Regions from separate parts of the Homo sapiens genome. Here region 2 is linked to region 1. The links are contacts of gene promoters, found by promoter capture Hi-C in blood cells and fetal thymus (Javierre and others, 2016). All regions are on one chromosome and are shown on one strand. Each heading gives the region's core, a stretch centred on a gene start or on the middle of the fragment in contact. The rest is flanking DNA. Distances are from core to core; before and after follow the strand shown.

Region 1 (4,581 bases), core at 712-3,211:
CCTCAAATGCTTACACAGTTGCTTTGAGAGGGGAGGGATGACGTCTGCACACCTGAGACGTCTCAAGAGGTTTCATCCTCAGTATGTGAGTGACCCTGTGGCCCAGGCTGAGTACCTAGGGCCCACGGGACACAGAAGACAATGATTTGAGCTGTGTGTCTCATGGGTGAGAGGATGCCTGAAAGTGGGGAGCGTGAGGCCAGGCTTTTCAGGAGTGGGGGGATCATGAACTTGGGGAGATAAAGGAAGAGTGAAATCTGGATGGGGAATGGGCTGTTCAGAGGCTTGGAGGTGGGAAGGATCCCAAGACAACTGAAGATGACAGGCATGATTGAAGGCTGGGAGGGAGTGCCAGGCGCAGGGATGTGCGTGCAGGAGAAGGGTGGGGAGGCCGTGCTGCTTTTGATGGCTGAGGAGGTGAGACTGGAGCTAATGGGCCATCAGGAATCTCCCAGCAGAGTAATGACAAGATGCAAATGGCGTTGGGAGATGATCCTGACGGCATGGTGTATGGGACCTGGGAGCTATCACAGGAGCCCCCAGAGGGCCTGGCTTAGGGGGGAAGCTACGTTCAACCAGACTAGCCTTCACTGCCACTTATCCCCAAGTCTTCAAGAGAAAGTCACACTGAGTCCTTCCCTCCTTCACGCCCCTGCCCAGACTCTCCAGCTCTACCTACACCTCATCAATGCCACAACTTTGTAATACAGGACTGGGGGGCAACAAGGTTACCTCTCATGGAGGGTCTGACCAAGGAGCAACCTGGAAGAGGATGAGATGGGTGATTTCGAACAAGGGCACAGCCAGGGCTCCAGAAATGCTGTCGGTGATCTGGGGCAGGGGGCATGGCCTCTGTGGGGGAACCTCAAAGTGGGTGATGCTTGCGTGGCAGCACATGATCCTAGGCCAGCCACAGAGAGACTGAACTAGGGAAAAATCCCCCTTTGCCACCCATACCCTCTTACTGCCAGGGGCAGCCTTCCCCTAGCTAGGAGAACCTGGGGTCGACCCAGCTCTTAGACAGAGAAGTTACCCCCAAACCCTGTGTGACATGAGTGAAGATTTGGGCGTGGTAGCCCACAAAAATATTCCCCCTCCTCCTCTGTTGGACTCTACAGTTTCACAATCAGTGTTCTATTCCTTTGGCTTAAGATTTTTGACCCAAGTTATTTTTTTAATGGTGCCACTTTAAGTTGTTATCATGTATCCACACCTTAGTATGAATGAGTCAATCTGATCCTTTTCCAGGAGTCGATTTCGTTGTTGATAGAGATGAAGGAAGGCTTTAAAATCCTAGAGTCTAGGACAGTGGGGTGGGGGAGACTGGTGAGGGGAGGATCAGGATGCTGGGGCAAAGAAGGGGCAAAGAGAGAAGAGAGGAGGGCACAGAAGGGAGAGGGTGGACGAGCCTGGGAGGGATGGGGGCAAATCACTCACTTCGTGATTTGGGGATGGGGTGATCAGAGATAGCCTGAGCAGAGACCGTAGTACAGCCTTTTACCAACTCCCTCTCCCCACTTGGGTGCCTGGACCCCCTGTTCCTGTGTCTTCATATCTCCTCGATGCAACAGCCTGGAGCGCAAACTTTCTGGGATATGACCCCAGCCTGGCTTCCTATTCTGCCGTCGCCACCCGCAGCTGGACAGGACAGGGGCTCTTGGCAGATCGGCAGGGGCGCAGTCCTGGAGACCAGGACACTCTGGGAAGGGGGCGCGCGGAGGTTTAGGATCGAAGCGGCAGGGGCCGCGGGGCTCTGCGTCCAGGGCCGGGGCAAGGGGACCCGGCCAGCGGGAGGCTCACCTGCAGGACACGGTGATCTCCACCTTGGTGGCCGGGATGCTGCCCGCCAAGGAGTCGAACTCGCTCAGCGACGCCATGTCCTCAGGCTGCTCCATCGCCCACCGCACCCCCCACCCCAAATTAGTCAATCCCTGCGCGATTCACGCCTCCTCCGGAGCGACTGGAGCCCTGGGCTCTCCCCCAACTCCAGAGCCTGGGCTGGGCGGCAAGGGGAGGAGAGAGGAGCGCGAAGAGGGGGCGTGGGAAGTGAGAGAGGGAAGAGGGCGGAGGGAGCGGGGGCCGCGGATCGAGGAGGGGGCTCGGGTGACGCCGCGAGGAGGCTAGGGGCCCAGTGGGGAAGGGCAAGGAGCCCAGGGAGCGGGGGCACAGCGGGGAAGGCAGAGAGGGGCGCGGGGAGAGGGGCTCGGGGAGAGGGCACCGGGAGGGAAACGCGGAGTCGTGGAGAGGGGCACCAGGAGAGGGACGCGCGTCTGTGGGCAGAGGTAGAGGGGATGCAGAAGACAGGGAGAGGGGCGTGAGGAGCGGGAGGCGCCGGATGGGGCGCTGGCGGCGGGGGTGGCGGGGCGCCGGCAGCGCGGAGCCCGAGCGCCCGGGCTGCGCCGCCTCTCCCTGGGTCTTGGCGCCGGCGGCGACGGGGCTGAGACGCGGCTGCGAGCGCCACCTCCTCGGCTCGGGCTTCGGCTCCGGGGCGCCCGGGCTGCGGGAAAATCAAATCTGCCCGAAGCCGCAGCCTCCCGCCGCCCGGGAACGCCAGAGGGGGCGCCCGCAGGGGCCGGGGCGGGGCCGCGGGCGGGGTCTGCGCGCAGGGTGAGTGTGAGCGTGTGTGTGTGCGCGTGTGTGTGTGTGTGCGCGCGTGGCGGGCCGGGGGACGCGGTCCAGATGCTGGGGACGTGGCGGGTGACAGCAAGAGGTGGTCCTGGTCGCGCGCATCTTCATTTGCGCCCGCCCCCTCTCACCACCCCTATCTCCCATCAGGGGTCTCCATCCTGGGGGAGGGGGAGGGTTATGGGAACCAACGGGCGCCTTTTTGAGAAAGGTCTATGCAGGGTTGAGAGGGGGCATAAGTGGGAGGGAGGTGTGCAAAAAAGATCCCCTCCCAGGGGCTTGGGTGTGGAGGGTCTCTGCTGAGTGTGCGCCCTACTCGGGGGCGGGTCTCAGTTCAGAAACAGACCCTACATCTCCTTCTGGGGAGGTGTGTGGGGGCGACCCCAGTGCCAGGAGGGACTACCTCGGTTTCCCAGTGGCCCAGGTGGGGTCGGTGCATGGGCGCCTCCCCCATCCGTGGTTCCCGCCAGCCGCGGCCTCGCCAAGTCGGCTGCCGAAACCACGCGCCAGCGCCCTTCCACTCCCCCGCCCGTCGTGACCACACGACTGAGCCAGCCTCCAGGTCTAGAAGCTCCTGCCACCCAGTCTGGTGGCAACCAGACTGGGAGATCGGCCCGAGCTCCCTGGGCTTCTATGCAGCCAGCACCGAGTAGGCGCGTGCTGTGTGCCTGGCGAGCGAGGGGAGAGTTGGGACACCTCTCCTGCAGTCCTCTTCCCAGCCAAGCCCCTCGCGATCCCCCGCCCTAGCCCAGCCTTGCCCTCCCGGGCATGAGGTTGCAGCGCAGAGGCGTCTCCCTGAGTAAGGCTGCACACGTAGACTTGACTCTAGCCCATCCTCAGCCTCAGCCTAAGCTTTGCCGAGCTGGAACCTCCACTTCCTCGCCCACCGCCTGGCACATCGAAGCCGATGTGCCTCGGGCCGGCGGGGAGGCCAAAAACCTGGTGCTGGGCTGGGCAGAGTTGCGCTCTCTGGGCCTTGTTTGTGGCAGCGGGACCATAAGGGGCTCCTCCGGATTCTGTTTGAAGTCAATTCCTGGAACATCAGATACTGTCAGTCAAAGATAAATACAAGAACACATTCCTCTGCCTGTTACAATTTCCCCATGGCTCAGAATCAGCTGGACTGGGTTCTGCCTCCTGGAACAGGCAGCAAGGGACAGAGGCTGTTAATTCCCCTGACAGCCAGGCACAGCTGGGTCAGGAGGCCCCACTCCAAGGAGAATAATTCTGTCTTCCCTTCCTGAGGATGCAAAACTGAACTCGGAATCTCTATGTTCCCCATCCCCCACATACCTGGCATAAACAATGCTCAAAGCATGCTTGTGGAATATGTTCTCCATTCATTCCAGGAGTGTTTACTGAGCATCTGCTGTGTGCCTGGCCCAGTGACAGGGCCTTGGGAAACCTTGTTCATAACAATAATTAGCATCGTTTTATTTTCAAAGATCTGGGCCAGACACCATGCTTACTTTTTTTTTTTGAAATATTAGTCACATACCATAAAATTACCATTTTAAGTTGTATAAATCAGCGGTTTGTAGCATATTCACAGGGACCGTGCATGATTTTAAATTCTCAAAATAATTTTATAAGTGAGATATTATTACTTTTAATGGGAAAAGCTGCAGTTACTTTGCACCAACCTAATATTATCTACATTTAATAAGTAAGGAAGCCAGTGCCCAGAGAGGCTAAGTAACTTACTCATCATCACCCAGCTGGGGACTGGCATAGTGAGAATGTGAAACAAGGCAGTTGAGACCAAAGCCTGACTCTGAGCAAGAGGCTCCACTCTCTTTTAGGATAGGGCCAGACGATGGAAAATCATCCATGAAATGAGGCCTTGTTGGGAAAGGCAACAATAGGGAGCCATTGCAGGTTGTTGAGCAGGTGAGTAGTAAGATTGAAGTTCTACCCAGTAACCTTGCAAAGTGACAGCATTTGGAGTAGCAGCCC
Region 2 (4,581 bases), core at 935-3,434, 510 kb after region 1:
TAGTGTATGTATTTTCTTTTCTTGTTGTTTTGTTTGTGTATTTGTTTTTGAGACAGAGTGTTGCTCAGTCACCCAGGCTAGAGTACAGTGGTGTGATCTCAGCTCACTGCAACTTCTGCCTCCCAGGCTCAAGGGATCCTCCCACCTCAGCCTCCCTGGTAGCTGGGATTACAGGTGCTCACCACCATGCCCAGATCATTTTTGTATTTTTACTAGAGACAGGGTTTCACCATGTTGGCCAGGCTGGTCTGGAACCCCTGACCTCAGGTGATCCACCTGCCTCGGCCTCCCAAAGTGCTGGGATTACAGGCGTGAGCCGCCACACTTGGCTGTGTGTGTGTTTTTTGTTTTTGTTTTTGTTTTTTTTGTTGTTGTTGTTTTGATGGAGTTTCACTCTTGTTGTCCAGGCTGGAGTGCAATGGCGAGATCTCGGCTCACCGCCACCTCTGCCTCCTGGGTTCAAGCGAGTCTCCTGGCTCAGCCTCCTGAGTGGCTGGGATTACAGGCACACGCCACCACGCTGGGCTAACTTTGTATTTTTAGTAGAGACGGTGTTTCTCCATGTTGGTCAGGCTGGTCTTGAACTCCCAACCTTAGGTGATCCGCCTGCCTCGGCCTCTCAAAAGTGCTGAGATTACAGGCATGAGCCACCATGCCCAGCCCGGCTGGTTTTTTGACAGAATTTTATTTAGGAAAATTGTTTTCCTTCTTTCCCCTTGTGCAAAAAAAAAAAAAAAAGAGAGGAAGAAGGGAGGAAGGAAGGAAGGAAGGAGAGAAAGAAAGAGAGAGAAAGAAGAAAAGAGAAAGAAAAAAGAAAAGAAAGAAAGAGAAGGAAGGAAGGAAAGAAAGAAGAAAGAAATTGTTAACTGGGTGTTGGAAAACTGAAAAGACAAAAGGGGCTCAACCATTGGATGTACTCACTGCAGGCAGCAGCTATCACACTATATGGAAAATCCAAAGGAGAGGCTGAGTTTAAAAACAATTTTTTAATTGGCCGGGCTCGGGGGCTCATGCTTGTAATCTCAGCACTTTGGGAGGCTGAGGCGGTTGGATCACTTGAATCCAGGAGACACGGCGAAACCCGGTATCTACCAAAAAATATAAAAATTAGCCGGGCGTGGTGGCGCGTGCCTGTAATCCCAGCTACTCTGGAGGCTGAGGCAGGAGAATCTCTTGAACCCGGGAGGCGGAGGTTGCAGTGAGCTGAGATCGCACCACTCCAGGCTGCACTCCAGCCTGGGTGACAGGGCGAGACCCTGTCTGTAATCAGTAATAATAATAATAAAATTAACAGCTTTATTGAGTATAATTTACATGCCATAAAATTCACCCACTGGAAGTTTACACTTTCTTCACTTTACAGGGTCTCACTCTGTCGCCCAGGCTGGGATGCAGTGGCGCCATGTCGGCTCACTGCAACCTCTGCCTCCCGGGGTCAGGTGATCCTCCCACCTCAGCCTCCCAAGTAGCCGGACTACAGGTGTGCACCACCACACCTAGCTAATTTTTCTTTTTTTTCTTTTTTCCTTTCTCTCCCTCCCTTCCTCCTTTTTTTTTTTTTTTTTTTGTAGATACGGTGTCTCCCCATGTGGCCAGGTTGGTCACAACTCCTGAACTCAAGTGATCCGCGCGTCTCGACCTCCCAAAGTGCTGGGATTACAGGCGTGAGCCACTGCGTCCGGCCACACTTCCATGACTTTTTAATAAACTTATACAGTTGTACAATTGTCACCACAATCCACTTTTAGAACATTTCTATTACCGCTTTCCTCCAATTTTTTCAAGCCCATCTGCATTCAATACCCGCTCCCACACCTCGCCCCAGGTAACTGTGCTCTTTGTCTTTGTAGATTTGCCTAGTGTAATTTATTTTTTACTTCGGTAATATAAGTAGGTCGTGCAAAATAGAGACTATTTAGCAACAGACTAGGCAGACTTAAATCCGATGGAAAGTTTAAAGTTGTTTAAAAGTGGGCTATAGTTTCACATGACTTTTTTAAAAAGAGGAAAGGTGAGAAGAGGTTCCAGTCTGGGGCGGCTAGGACTGGGGTGATGGTTCTGGAGGCGGCGAGGGAAGGTGTGAGGCGAGGAGACCTCTCGAATCGCGCCCGCCCCGCCCAGGGCCGGATTGGCTCCCAACCCACCCTCTTTGCTCCAGGGCGGCCGCCGTCCTCTTGCGCAGGCGTAGTGCTCCTGCTTCCTGGCCGAGGGCGGGCGAGCGGAGCCTGCTTTCGCAGCGATCGCGAGCGTGTGGCGATTGCTTCTGTCTGTTATTTAGATATGGAAGCTGAGGGGATGCACAGAGGCAGCCAGAACCTAGGTCAGGGTCTCGCTCGGTGCTGACCGCCCCCGGGGTCGAGTAGGCGATGGGGGAGCCCGGCTTCTTCGTCACAGGAGACCGCGCCGGTGGCCGGAGCTGGTGCCTGCGGCGGGTGGGGATGAGCGCCGGGTGGCTGCTGCTGGAAGATGGGTGCGAGGTACGGGGGAAGGGGTCCTGTGGAGCGGAGGGCAGGGGCTGGAGGGAGCGGGGCTCCGGGGAGGGAGGAAGGTGTCTTGCTGGGCTGAATGAATGGCAGAGAGGAGGCGGGCATCAGGAAGAGGAGCGAAGTGTCTGTGGGGGGGGTGGATTCCTGGGGAGAGAAGGGAGAAAGCGGTTCTGGCGCGAGCGGCTGAAGGGTCTGCGGTGGGAGGTGTTTGGGGGAGAAATAGGGGCCGAGTGGGAGAAAGGAAGAAAAGAGAGTTCGGCTCTGGGGAGCCCGGGGGGGCCACAAGGGTTGGGGCGAGGACGGAGGCCCTGACCCGCGGCCTGTGGGGCGAGAAGCGGGCCCCGTCCAGAGAGGCCTGGGTCAGCGGGTAGCTGGGCCGGGGACTGGGAGGAGAGGGACGCGCAGGGAACGTGAGGAGATGCGGGGGTGTCGAGGAGGGGAGGGCGGGGGCTGGCCAGATCCCGTTTAGGGCGCACAGAGCCCCGCGGTGCCAGGTCGGGGAACGGTGGCGGGGGCCGCGAGCTGCCGGGAAGCCGAGGCAGGGCCCGGCGCCTGAACTTTCTCGAGTTTGTTTTGAAAACGATTGCAAATTTTGGGTTTTGTCCCTTAAAGCAATCAAACTTTCACGTAGAAATGTCTTCCTCCTTCCCAACTCTGAGGAACATGGGCGGCTTGGGCTGGGCCACATTTCTCCTGTGAGGCTCGGTACGGCCGAGTGGCACTCCCTGAGGTGGGTCGGGCAGGTATTCAGAGTTCTCTCCAGAGGCTGCCTGTCGTCTTTATTAATGCAGTTGCAAATGAAAAATATTTTAAGGGGAAAGATGAGGTACCGTTCCTGGCACGGTTCAAGATGCACCAGCGTGGTGCATCTTGAAAAGACGAGGGAAGGGAGGAGGGAGTTAGATTGCAATCAGGTTGAGAAGGAGAACTGGGTCAGGGACAAGCTTGTGATGACTGGGAACCATTTGGGTTTTGGAAATAATCTGTATGAAAAGTTCTCTTTGCAGTAAAAGTGGATGGTTGGTCATGATGTAAATTCAAGAAGTATTTTGAGTCTCATGTGTGTTCAGGTAGATTTTTCCTATAAGCCGTACTGCCTCAATTCAGTCTGCCAGGTATTTACTGAGTATTTAACATTGTTTGGTGTACAATGAGGACAAATAAAATTTCTGCGCTCGAAGAGTTTAAGGCTTGAGTGGGGAGAGAGGATTTATACAATGAAGCAGTCATCGTATAAAGAACATCCATATGGGCTGTATGATCAAGTGCTAAGATTTGGATTATTTAGTTCCTTCCCAGAGCAGTAGTTCTTCAAGTCAGAGGAGGAATTCATGTCTAGGCACAAATTTAATTGCTAGATTAGGGAGTGTTATAAAGGGTTACTTGTATGCTGTGGTTTGAGGAACACCAAGAAAACATCTCTGCCTCCAAATACCTCTTCTATCCAGGTATTAGTGCCTAAAAGTCCACATTAAGCATTCATTCTTTTAGCTTGAGCACTGATCTTTCCCTGCCTGGCCCTTTCCAACAGCATATGTTTGTGGGAAGTTTAACAAATTAAAACACGAACACCTGAATAATAACCTGAATAATACACACAAAAATAAATTATTTTTGTGCATAACTATTAGTTAATTTCACATACATTACTTAATCTGATCCCTGCATACACACAACCTCATAAGATAACTCAGTGGGCAAGTGTTATTCCTTTAGATTCAATTGTTGTGGATTAATTTATGACTTCTGAATAGCTTGTCAGTACTGCAGTCTTGGGCAGGTGGGATGGGGAGGACGAATTAAAGCACCTGAAGAAAGGGCAAGAAGACTATAAAGCAGTCTTAGACATATTCTAAACCATTTGATAGTTCTTTATGGGGCCAGTTGCATGGGGAGGGACCCATATAAACTCAGTGGTAAGACTGTGGCTGGCTTCAGGGACCTGTGTGTAGGAGAAGCCTGCCAGGCTTGGCTGCCTGCAAGGTCAGGTCGTAGCATAGCCTGAAAAGAAGTCTGAATCAAAGGCAAGAGAAGAAGTTGTACTTATTGTTATGGTCCCCAAATCATAGCACAAGCTGTTTTGCACAAGATTTTA

Evidence for each region. The method cuts DNA at HindIII sites, captures the fragments that hold promoters and counts their contacts. A CHiCAGO score of 5 or more calls a contact.
Region 2: a contact is called between the fragment with the promoter of RNF8 here and the fragment with the promoter of CPNE5 in region 1, in 4 of 17 cell types (non-activated CD4 T cells, erythroblasts, M1 macrophages and 1 more). The highest score is 7.9, in non-activated CD4 T cells.

The regions. Positions count from the first base shown.
Region 1 is chr6:36,837,483-36,842,063 of GRCh38, forward strand. CPNE5 (copine 5) reads right to left here and starts at 1,962. Exons shown (of 21, transcript NM_020939.2): 1 at 1,801-1,962. The coding sequence starts at 1,895. RefSeq lists a silencer at 2,426-2,635 and an enhancer at 3,320-3,870. The HindIII fragment of the contact is 11,867 bases long and covers 1-3,475 here.
Region 2 is chr6:37,351,799-37,356,379 of GRCh38, forward strand. RNF8 (ring finger protein 8) reads left to right here and starts at 2,185. Exons shown (of 8, transcript NM_003958.4): 1 at 2,185-2,477. The coding sequence starts at 2,367. RefSeq lists a silencer at 2,038-2,137 and an enhancer at 2,438-2,487. The HindIII fragment of the contact is 12,469 bases long and covers 1-3,428 here.